Linked DNA regions of Homo sapiens: all the other regions are linked to region 3. Evidence: promoter capture Hi-C in 16 types of primary human blood cells and fetal thymus (Javierre and others, 2016). All regions are on one chromosome and are shown on one strand. The core of a region is centred on a gene start or on the middle of the fragment in contact, and the rest is flanking DNA. Distances in the headings are between cores, read along the strand shown. Region 1 has its middle 92 kb from the start of TRIM2. Region 2 overlaps RNF175 (ring finger protein 175). Region 3 holds the start of TMEM131L (transmembrane 131 like).

Evidence for each region. Contacts are between HindIII fragments. The CHiCAGO score rates a contact against its expected background, and 5 or more counts as called.
Region 1: a fragment that was not itself captured here is called in contact with the fragment with the promoter of TMEM131L in region 3 in 6 of 17 cell types (naive CD8 T cells, activated CD4 T cells, naive CD4 T cells and 3 more); the score reaches 9.3 in naive CD8 T cells.
Region 2: a fragment that was not itself captured here is called in contact with the fragment with the promoter of TMEM131L in region 3 in 1 of 17 cell types (monocytes); the score reaches 5.4 in monocytes.

What each region holds. Positions count from the first base shown.
Region 1 is chr4:153,110,818-153,113,684 of GRCh38, reverse strand. No RefSeq gene overlaps it. Among named protein-coding and RNA genes, the nearest start is that of TRIM2, 92 kb to the left of the region's middle. RefSeq lists an enhancer at 915-1,414. The HindIII fragment of the contact is 166 bases long and covers 1,464-1,629 here.
Region 2 is chr4:153,730,363-153,733,432 of GRCh38, reverse strand. All of the region lies in intron 3 of RNF175 (ring finger protein 175), which reads left to right. Among named protein-coding and RNA genes, the nearest start is that of RNF175, 28 kb to the left of the region's middle. The HindIII fragment of the contact is 3,306 bases long and covers 103-3,070 here.
Region 3 is chr4:153,464,747-153,467,677 of GRCh38, reverse strand. It overlaps TMEM131L (transmembrane 131 like), which reads right to left and starts at 1,318. Exons shown (of 35, transcript NM_001131007.2): 1 at 1,157-1,318; 2 at 397-467. The coding sequence starts at 1,280. RefSeq lists enhancers at 58-147, 1-307, 1,678-1,857 and silencers at 618-977, 1,348-1,447, 1,488-1,637. The HindIII fragment of the contact is 8,794 bases long and covers 1-2,931 here.

The DNA.
Region 1 (2,867 bases), core at 297-2,796, 350 kb after region 3:
CTCACAATGGAAATGGACAGAGTAGCTAAGCAGTGCCCATTAGAGGTTTGTGGCCATGAACTTAAAGTGAAACCAGTCAGCCCGACAGTGTGACTTTTCCTGTTGTGGTCAGCTGTGCATCCAAGTCAATACTAGAATCAGCCAAGGTTGAGGTTTTGCAGGATAAGTATGACTTAGAGAAGAGAGAAGCAAGGGGTTGAGGAATTCTGCCAGGGAGAGGTTGTAATGAGGCAACTTGCAGTCTGAGCTGAGTAAGGAGGGCAACAATGAGGGAAGGAATGACAGAAAACGCACAGGCAGGGACGTCAGTGAATGAGAGCCCTTGGGCTAGAGTCCTAGAGCACAAGAGAGCTGGGAGGATGTCTGAGATCGATAATTTAAAGGTGGCTGAGATGCTTGTTATGACAAGGTCTACGGTGTGACCATGAGACTAGAGTGGCTCAGGTGGGAAACAGGATAAGGCACTGAGTTCAGTTGAATGGTGGGCTCCAAAAAGATATGTCAGTGTCCTGGAACTTGCGACCCTGTGACTATAATTTTATTTGGAAAAAGAGTCTTGGCAGATATAATTCAATTAAAGATCAATGGATGAGATCATCCTGGATTAGCCATGTGGGCCCTAAATCCAGTAAGTGTCCTTGTAATAGAAAGAAGGGGAGACAGACACACAGACACAGGAGAAGACCAAGTGAAGAGATTGGAGTTACACAGTCACAGGCCAAGGAACCACCAGAAGCTGGAAGAGGCCAGGAAGAGTTCGCCCAAAGCCTCCAGAGGCACTGTGGCCCTGTCCATGCCTTGATTTTGGATTTCCAGCCTCTAGATCTGTGAGATAATCAATTTCTGTTATGCTAAGCCACCGATTTGAAGCAATTTGTTTCAGCGGCCCTAGGGAACTGCTACTGAGACTTAGAAGCTCTAGTGTTGGTCAGCTCCTCCATACGGATGTAAAAATCAGAGGAAATGTGGAGGAGAAGGTAGTGAGGCAGAACTAGAGTTTTTAATGAATGGGATAATCAGAGGTTGGTAAGGACCATCATGAGGAAAGGCAGGATGTGGTGGAGCTGAATGGCACAGCTTCACATAAGCTGTGGGTTCTAGAGAAAAAAGAGAGAGATGTAATTTGGAAATGGCAGTAGGGGTGGGGGCTCCAAGGTGACCAGAGTCCCAGGGAACAGTTGGCCTTCAGTCCACACAGACACCAGGGCCAAGCAAGGAAGGGGCCGAAGAGGTGGGAGCATGCGGACCACAGCAGGGCTGGGTGTGGTGAGAAGGGGCTATGCTCCACGGGGTGGGGGCATGGAGAGAGCAGAGCGGAGCAGGGTGTGGGGACAGCTGGATGGAAGCTATAGGACCTCTCCTGGGACCCCGCCAGTAGGCACGTGAGGCCTGCTGCACCCAGTTCTTCTGTCCTGAGAGGGCTGCGGGCCATGTGCAGGAGCTGTGCTTCCTGGCACTAAGCTTGATTGTTGGCCTTTGAAGACTGCTCCCTCTGACAGCTGATGACGCCTTTTGGGCCACCACAGGCTTTCCCGGCACACCTGCATGCGGGTGCCTCGGGACTGCTCCAGCTCACAGCTGTCTTTACAGCTTCCAATACTGCCCTAAGGGCAGAGCTAAACTAAAGCTTTGGAGCTCGTTTGTCTAGATTGATGCCCAGATTATATCTCAGGATTTATATTAATGCATGTCTAACAATAAGCAATCTGTTAAATAAATTACAATACATTCATATGATGGGAGGCTATGCGACCATTACAAATTATGCGGTTGAAAACCACGGGAAAATGCTCACAACAGATAGTGTCTTGGTTTGTTTGGGCAGCTGCCATGACACCGTGCCATAAACATGGGGGCTTATAAACAAATTTATTTTTCACAGTTTTGGAAGGGGTGGGGGCCAAGATCAAGGTGTCGGCTGATTCAGTGTCTAGTGAGGACCTTTTTCCTGGTTCACAGGTGACACCTTCTCCCTGTGTCCTCACCTGGTAGAAGGGGCCAGGGGTTCTCCAGGGCCTCCTCTCGAGGGACACTAAACCCATGCTTGAGAGCTCTGCCCTCATGACCTAATCACCGCCCAGTAGCACCCACTCCTAATACCACCACCTTGGGGGTTAGGTTTCAACATATGAATGTGGCGGGGACGCAAACATTCTGACTATAGCAGGTAGTTAAGTGCAAAAATCCTACCAGATGATCCCAACCCAGCTAACTAATGAACAAACGTTTATCCACAGGCATACAGACACCTGGAAATAGACTATACATGAAAAGAACAACAGTCCTGTGTGGATACGAGTAAGGGAAATCTGTATGTTCCTCCTACTTTACTGTATTTTCCAAAAGGATGATGAATGTCTGTCACTTTCATGATCTGAAGAAAAAAAGGAAGAAAATTGGTCCTAACGCACTTCTCAAATACTTGTTTCCCCTCTCTCTGATAGGAGTATTTGGAGAGATTCTCATGGTTGCCTCTGGCTCCCAGTAGGTGTGAGACCCCATTCCCCTCCAGCTCAGCCTTCTCATCTCCCAGCTCCCTTCCCACTCCTGCGCTCTGCCCTGCTCAAGGCAGGTGCCTCTCCAATGTGAGCCCTAACTGTCCCTGCAACACCGAATCCAAGGATCTGGGCTTGGAATGACTGTGTGCTCATCTGGCCCAACCTGGGTCAGTGAATCATTTCTACAATGTCCTAGACGAGTGACCTCCTGGACAAGGTCTGTTGCCTTTTGGGTGTGACACCCACCACGTGTGCAGCTTTTTTTTTTTTTCTTCTAAGACTTCCGGCCTTCACCTGGTGCCTTTAAGGGTGTCCAGGGCACTCTGCCATCATTCCTCTGGCTGCTCCTCAGTGGGTGGCGCAGTGACC
Region 2 (3,070 bases), core at 506-3,005, 270 kb before region 3:
GAGCCAGGTTACTTACTGTTGGAATGCGAGTTTACAGAAAAGCAAGGGATGGAAGTTAGAAAAAAAGTAGGAAGTGCACTTATAGTAATATGTGTAAAAGCTTTGTATACTGCATGTATTATTATTTATGCATATTATTTTTACCCTGAAGGTATTATTCATTATAAAGGATTATTATTTTCACATTCTTTTATGCATAATTCAGATCATGTACTTAAAGAGGACACAGACTAATTCAAAAAGCTCAGAATATTTTCAGATACAACTTTTTAACAAGTATGCCCGTCTTCTGAGGTGGTCTTTTAAATTTGTCTAGATAGATTATGTTCTGCGGTCTGTAGGAGCTGTGTACATCAGAGCAGCTTATTATAAATACCTAAAGCAAAAGAAATGGTTTATTTAGAAAATAAAGTATAGAAATATAATGTTAACTGCTCCTGTGTGATGTCAAAAGTGGAAAGAAGGTGGGAAATTCTTATTTCATGTGGGATACTACTAAATACCTGGATGTTTTCAAGTAGTCGCATTTTTAGCACAGCATAGTCCAAGCATCCGGGTATTTGAATTTTTCCCTTTCCAGCTGGTAATCTTGATATGTTATAGATGTAGGCAAAGCCTCAAAGTTAAATCATTTCCAAATGCTTTGAACAGCATTTAACTAGAAATAAAATTTCATTCAACATCACCCTCTCCACCTTCTTTTATGTGCAGTTACTTTCCGTATCTGCAGCAAGTAGACAGAAGAGTGCCAAAAAAGAATCCTTCTCTGACTTCACAAATCAGTAGAAGGCCTGATGACTACATGCCCAGAACTTGGGTTTCAGACACACTATTAACTTGCCTCAATACAGTGCAAATAATTTTCCAGATTGAAGCATTGCTCTATTTAAATCAACCTTCCTGCCTATTAATAGCTGTGAAATACTAGAAAATATTACTGGGCCAATAAAGCATTGTGTCTGCTCAAATCTTTTTAAAATGAGGCAAGACACAAATACATACATACTTAAATACATATGTATATAACATTGCAGAACCTCCTTTAAAAGTTTAAATAACAAAATCAGCCATCTAGATTGATGTGGAGATTAAAAAAAGTGAACCAACTGAATTTCTAAGGAACCTTTGTATGCCAATATTCCATTTCCATATTTTCTTCTTCTTCTTTGTTTTTTGTTTTTTGTTTTTGTTTTTTTTTTTTGAGACAGAGTCTTGCTCTGTTACCCAGGCTGTAGTACAGTGGCAGGATGTCGGCTCACTGCAACCTCCGCTTCCCAGGTTCAAACAACTCTCACGCTTCAGCCACCCAAGTAGCTGGGATTCCAGGCGTGTGCCACCTCGCCCAGCTAATTTTTGTATTTTTAGTAGAGATGGGGTTTCACCATGTTGCCCAGGCTGGTCTCAAACTTCTGGCCTCAAGGGATCCACCCATCTCGGCCTCCCAAAGTCCTCAGATTACAGGCATGAGTCACCACGTGCCAACCCATACTTTCTTCCTACTTGCTTTATATTCACACTCTCCTTCATTGTCTTTTACTAATAGCAGCATTGTTTCCTGGGTATTTTTTTATGATAATTTTCTGCTTACCTCTGAGCACACCACTGCCCTCCCTCCACCATCCCACCACCCTCCACACACAAATGATTGCAGATAGTTTGGGATTTGCAGTGCAGAGGAAATGAACACACATAATTTATTTATTTTTTTCTTTTTTTCCTTGTTTCCTTCCTTCCTTCCTTCCTTCCTCCCTCCCTCCCTCTCTCTCTTTCTTTCTCTTTCCTTCTTTCTTTTAATATTGCATGGCCCATTCATCATTCTGTACAATTAGCCAAATGAAAGGTATCTTTGTTTTAGCTTGATCTGTAATTCTTTTCAGATTCATTATGTGCATGGCAACACAAAGAAACCATGGTACTTTTGGGCAGCATCTGATTCATCAGGAAATTCCTCCTGCTATGATATGTGGTTGGGGAGAACGTGAGTGATGTGATCCAGATGCATGAGCCACCCGTTGCCAGTAGTGCAGATGTGTTTTATACACACATGCCCAGATGGTGACCCCTGTGGCATTATTAATGAGTTCCAGATGCCAGGCTTCCTTCTTTGCATGTATGTGCCTCGATTTCATATATTTCATGTGTTTATTTATGAGGGACAGCATTCCTACATTTCATATATGGCAGTTACTATTTAAAATGAGAAATTTTAACTGCTCTGGAAATTGATAAAGAATCTTTTAAATTGATATGAAATGTGTCTCTCATTTCAAAATGACTAGCCATGCAATCACTGAATTCACAGAGCAAATTACTGAACTTTCCCTTCATATATTGAGAAAATATGGTGCTGAGTTACATTTTAAAGATAGTTAAGAAATAAAATATTTGCACACATAATACATTCTAATGATTTTTTGCTTTCTTTTCCTTTTTGATCTCCAAAGCCTATTTTTAAAAGTACAATGTCTGTACATTGAACATTGTTACTCACTATTAATTAAATCTAGGCATCAAGAGAAATTTGACATCTTCTAGAAATTGTTCATACTTATGGATTTACAGGAAGAGAACTGGTTTTATTAAAATATAGTCCAGCTGTGGCTCCAAACTATCATGGATTGTAACTCCATGGATTAGAAGAAATTGATTAGTCTTATATTTTGGCTTAGATCTAAAGTATAAAATATAAGAGCATAGTAGTTCCACTGAATTAAAATGAACCAACTCAAGTTTTTATTTTAAAAAACTCCAGTATTTTATGGGGAAATAAAAAAATGAAACAAATTCTTAAAATAGAAAGAGGAAAAATGCAAACGACAGATGATCAGACTTTGAAAGATGAAGTTCATGTCCATTTCCTTCTTTACTACCAGAAGTAATGATCTTTTAAGTCAGCAAATGTATAATTTATGATAAAGAACTATCTCCAAAATCAGCTACAGAAAATAAATGACCAATATGCTGATAAGATTTTTGTTAAGGTGCTACCCACTTTTTTTTTTTTAAGACAGGGTCTAACTCTGTCACCCGGTGCAGTGTCATGATCTCAACTCACTGCAGCCTTGACCTC
Region 3 (2,931 bases), core at 69-2,568:
TGGCAAATACCACTCTAACATTTATGAAATCAATACTCCTGTTGTCCTCAACCTCTTAGCCACTTGCCATCCACACAGCACCAGCTCACTTAGGGAACAGTGTGCACCCAGGACACCCACGGCCGAACAGACCGCTGGCCGCTTCCCTGCTGAGGTGGCCTGGGTTCCCACCTTCTGAACTTGGGGCCGGCCTGCCTCAGGCCCTGTCACATGGCGTGGGAGGAGCCGGGAAGGCCACCGTTGCCAGGTGTTCAGGCTCGGCCCCTAACGTTTATTTGCCTTGCAAAGTGGCCCGAACGCCTGTGCCGCTTGGACAGGGGGTGGGGAGGACCGGGGGCCTCCCCGCCTCTCCTCCCTCGTACACCCACAGCCGCCCTGTCACCTGGTCGTCCTCACCTGAGTGGGCAGCAGGAGTTCCCCTTCTTCTGCCTGCCACAGCTCCACCACGTTCGGCAACGGCTCAATCGCTGCAGGAACACCAAAAAATACACCACGTTTTTAATGCACGCTAAAGAAACGCTTCCTGTTTCCCCTACCGTCCCTCCGTGCCCCCCGCCTCACCAAAACACGTCTCTTTTTCCTCCTGGGAACAGAGGCCATCCCAGGGGCGAGCCAAGGATAAAAATACAATGGGTGGGGTGTGAGCCGGCGGCCCCTCGGACGCGAAGGCGACAGCGTGCAGGCAGGCTCGGGGTGCTCGTGCTGGGGGTGGGGGGACGAAGTGGGAGTGAAGACACCCCACGAGGCACTCCGGGCTCCGCAGCCCGAGCATCTGGAGTGTGGACCCTGGGCGGCCAGGCTCGGGGGAACAAAGCTGCAGGAAGCCGGGCCGCTGCGGGGCACCCGCGCGCGCCACACAAAGCGGGGGCTGCGCCCGGGGCGCAGGGGCCCGCGCACAAAGGCTCCAGGGCGCGAGCGGCTAGCGGTCCCCAAGCCCCGCGACTGCCCCGCTCTCCAGCTGTACGGGGCAGAGAGGCGCGGGACGGGACGCTGTGGTCAGAAAATGTTATCAGCGGAGAATCGCAACAGCTTTCCTTCCTCCTCCTGCCCCTTTCCCTTTCCTCCCCTCGCCCTCTTATAGATTTCAGCAGTTCCCTAAAAGAAAGAGCGGGGGCGGGGTGGAGAGGCAGAGCGAGCCCAGCGGCGCAAGGCTGACCTTGTCCCTGAGCCCCTCCCGGGCGACAGCAGGGCAGCAGGACCTGGAAGACGCCCAGCAGGAGGTTCACGGCCGCCGCGGTGCGGCAGTAGCAGCCGGGCTGCGGGCGTCGGAGCCCCGCCATGCTGCTGCTCGCGCTCCTCTCCGTTGCTCGCCGCGCTCGCCGCTAGCTCGCTGGCGCCCCAGCTGCCTCGCCCCGGGCCCGCCCCCGTGCCGCCCCGCCCCGCCCCGCCCCGCCCCGCCCCGCCCCGCGCCGCACCACCCCCGCCGCTGCCGCAGCTGCTGCAGCTCCAGACCCGGGCGCGCCGCTTGCTCTGAGCGCGTGTGCGCCGCAGATAGGGAGGGACGGAACGCGGCGGGGTGCGGGGGAAAGTGGACAATGCGAACCCGCGGGTGCCCCGCCCCGGCGCGGAGCACATGGCCGCGGGCCCGCCCCGCAGCGCGCACTCTGCGGGGCCCGGGCGCTTTCCTCGGCTGGGACGGGGTCGCTTAGAGCTGTCCGCGGGGACTAGCGGCCCACTTTTGCCAAGTGCATTTTCATGAACTTTTGGGTGGTTGCCGCTTTGTCGAGGCGCTTGGGCCACGGTCGAGAGATTACCCTCGAGGGAAGAGGTGGCGGTGGAGGTGGGAACGAGGAGTCGCCAAGCGAGAGGCCTTGGACACAGGATATTAGTGGAAATAATGCAGTGGTTGTCAGGAAACGCGAGTGCAGCCACATGGCCACTGCCAGTTATGCAGCGAGGATATCCGGTGGCTGCAAAGTCTGTAATTTAGAATAAAAAGAGCTCTCCCAAAACCCGAGAGGCAGACCTCAGCGCCGCGTGGCGGTAGTGCGCCCGGCACCCTCTGTGGACACTGTCCAGGTCCTGACAGGTGGGGAAGACTCTTCCTAGGGGATTTATAGCTTCAAAGACCCTGCAAATACTCCCTTTTGGAATCATATTGCAAAATTCAGCCAGCCTCTCCTGAAATATGGTTGGGGTCGAGGATGTGGTTAGTTGCCTGTTTCTAACATTAGTAGGATAATGGAAGTAATACGTGGAAATACATTTCCTAGTTCCAGGTTTTGATGCCTATAACTAACAAGTCCAAAATCTGGCATCTCTTTAAGTTAACATCCTGCCTTTACCAGCGATGTCGCAAACAAGGGCTTATTCAGAAATCAATTTGCATAACCTAGAAGTATGGGCAATCTTATGATTTTTTAAAGTTAACTTACTGCTTCCACTGTAGCTTGTATGAAATTCAGAGAATATGAACAATATAGTATGAAGAGGGGAAGTGATGGGACACACCTGTTTACCTTAATCCTCTGTTTAATTGCTCCTTGTGCCTTACAAGCCAGACTATAGAAAACCAGTGCTTGCATAGCAGACACAATCCTGAGAAGGACAAAATGAAATCTAGATCCTCTTTCCTAAAGACGTAATACAGTACTGTGAACACAGTCTCACACACTGTCTGCATTTAACTCCAAACAAGGTTAAATAGTCTAATTGCTTGGCCAGACTTAACATTTAAGTAGATTAGCATAAACGTAAGTTGTTGATGTGAAAAAAAAAAAGGGACACTTTGCATTTTCCAACTTGAATACCTCCAGTAGTCTCTGTTTCATACTTTTTTCTGTATTCCTTGCCAACATCTTCCTTTATTTAGCAAGGATCTCCAGTGCCATCTCAATGTGCCCTTTTTTTCTCTTCACTTCTCCAAGTTTCTATTTGCCCCTTGGATTCTGAAGGTCCCCCACGCAGTTAAAGGGACCTCCAGTGACAGGA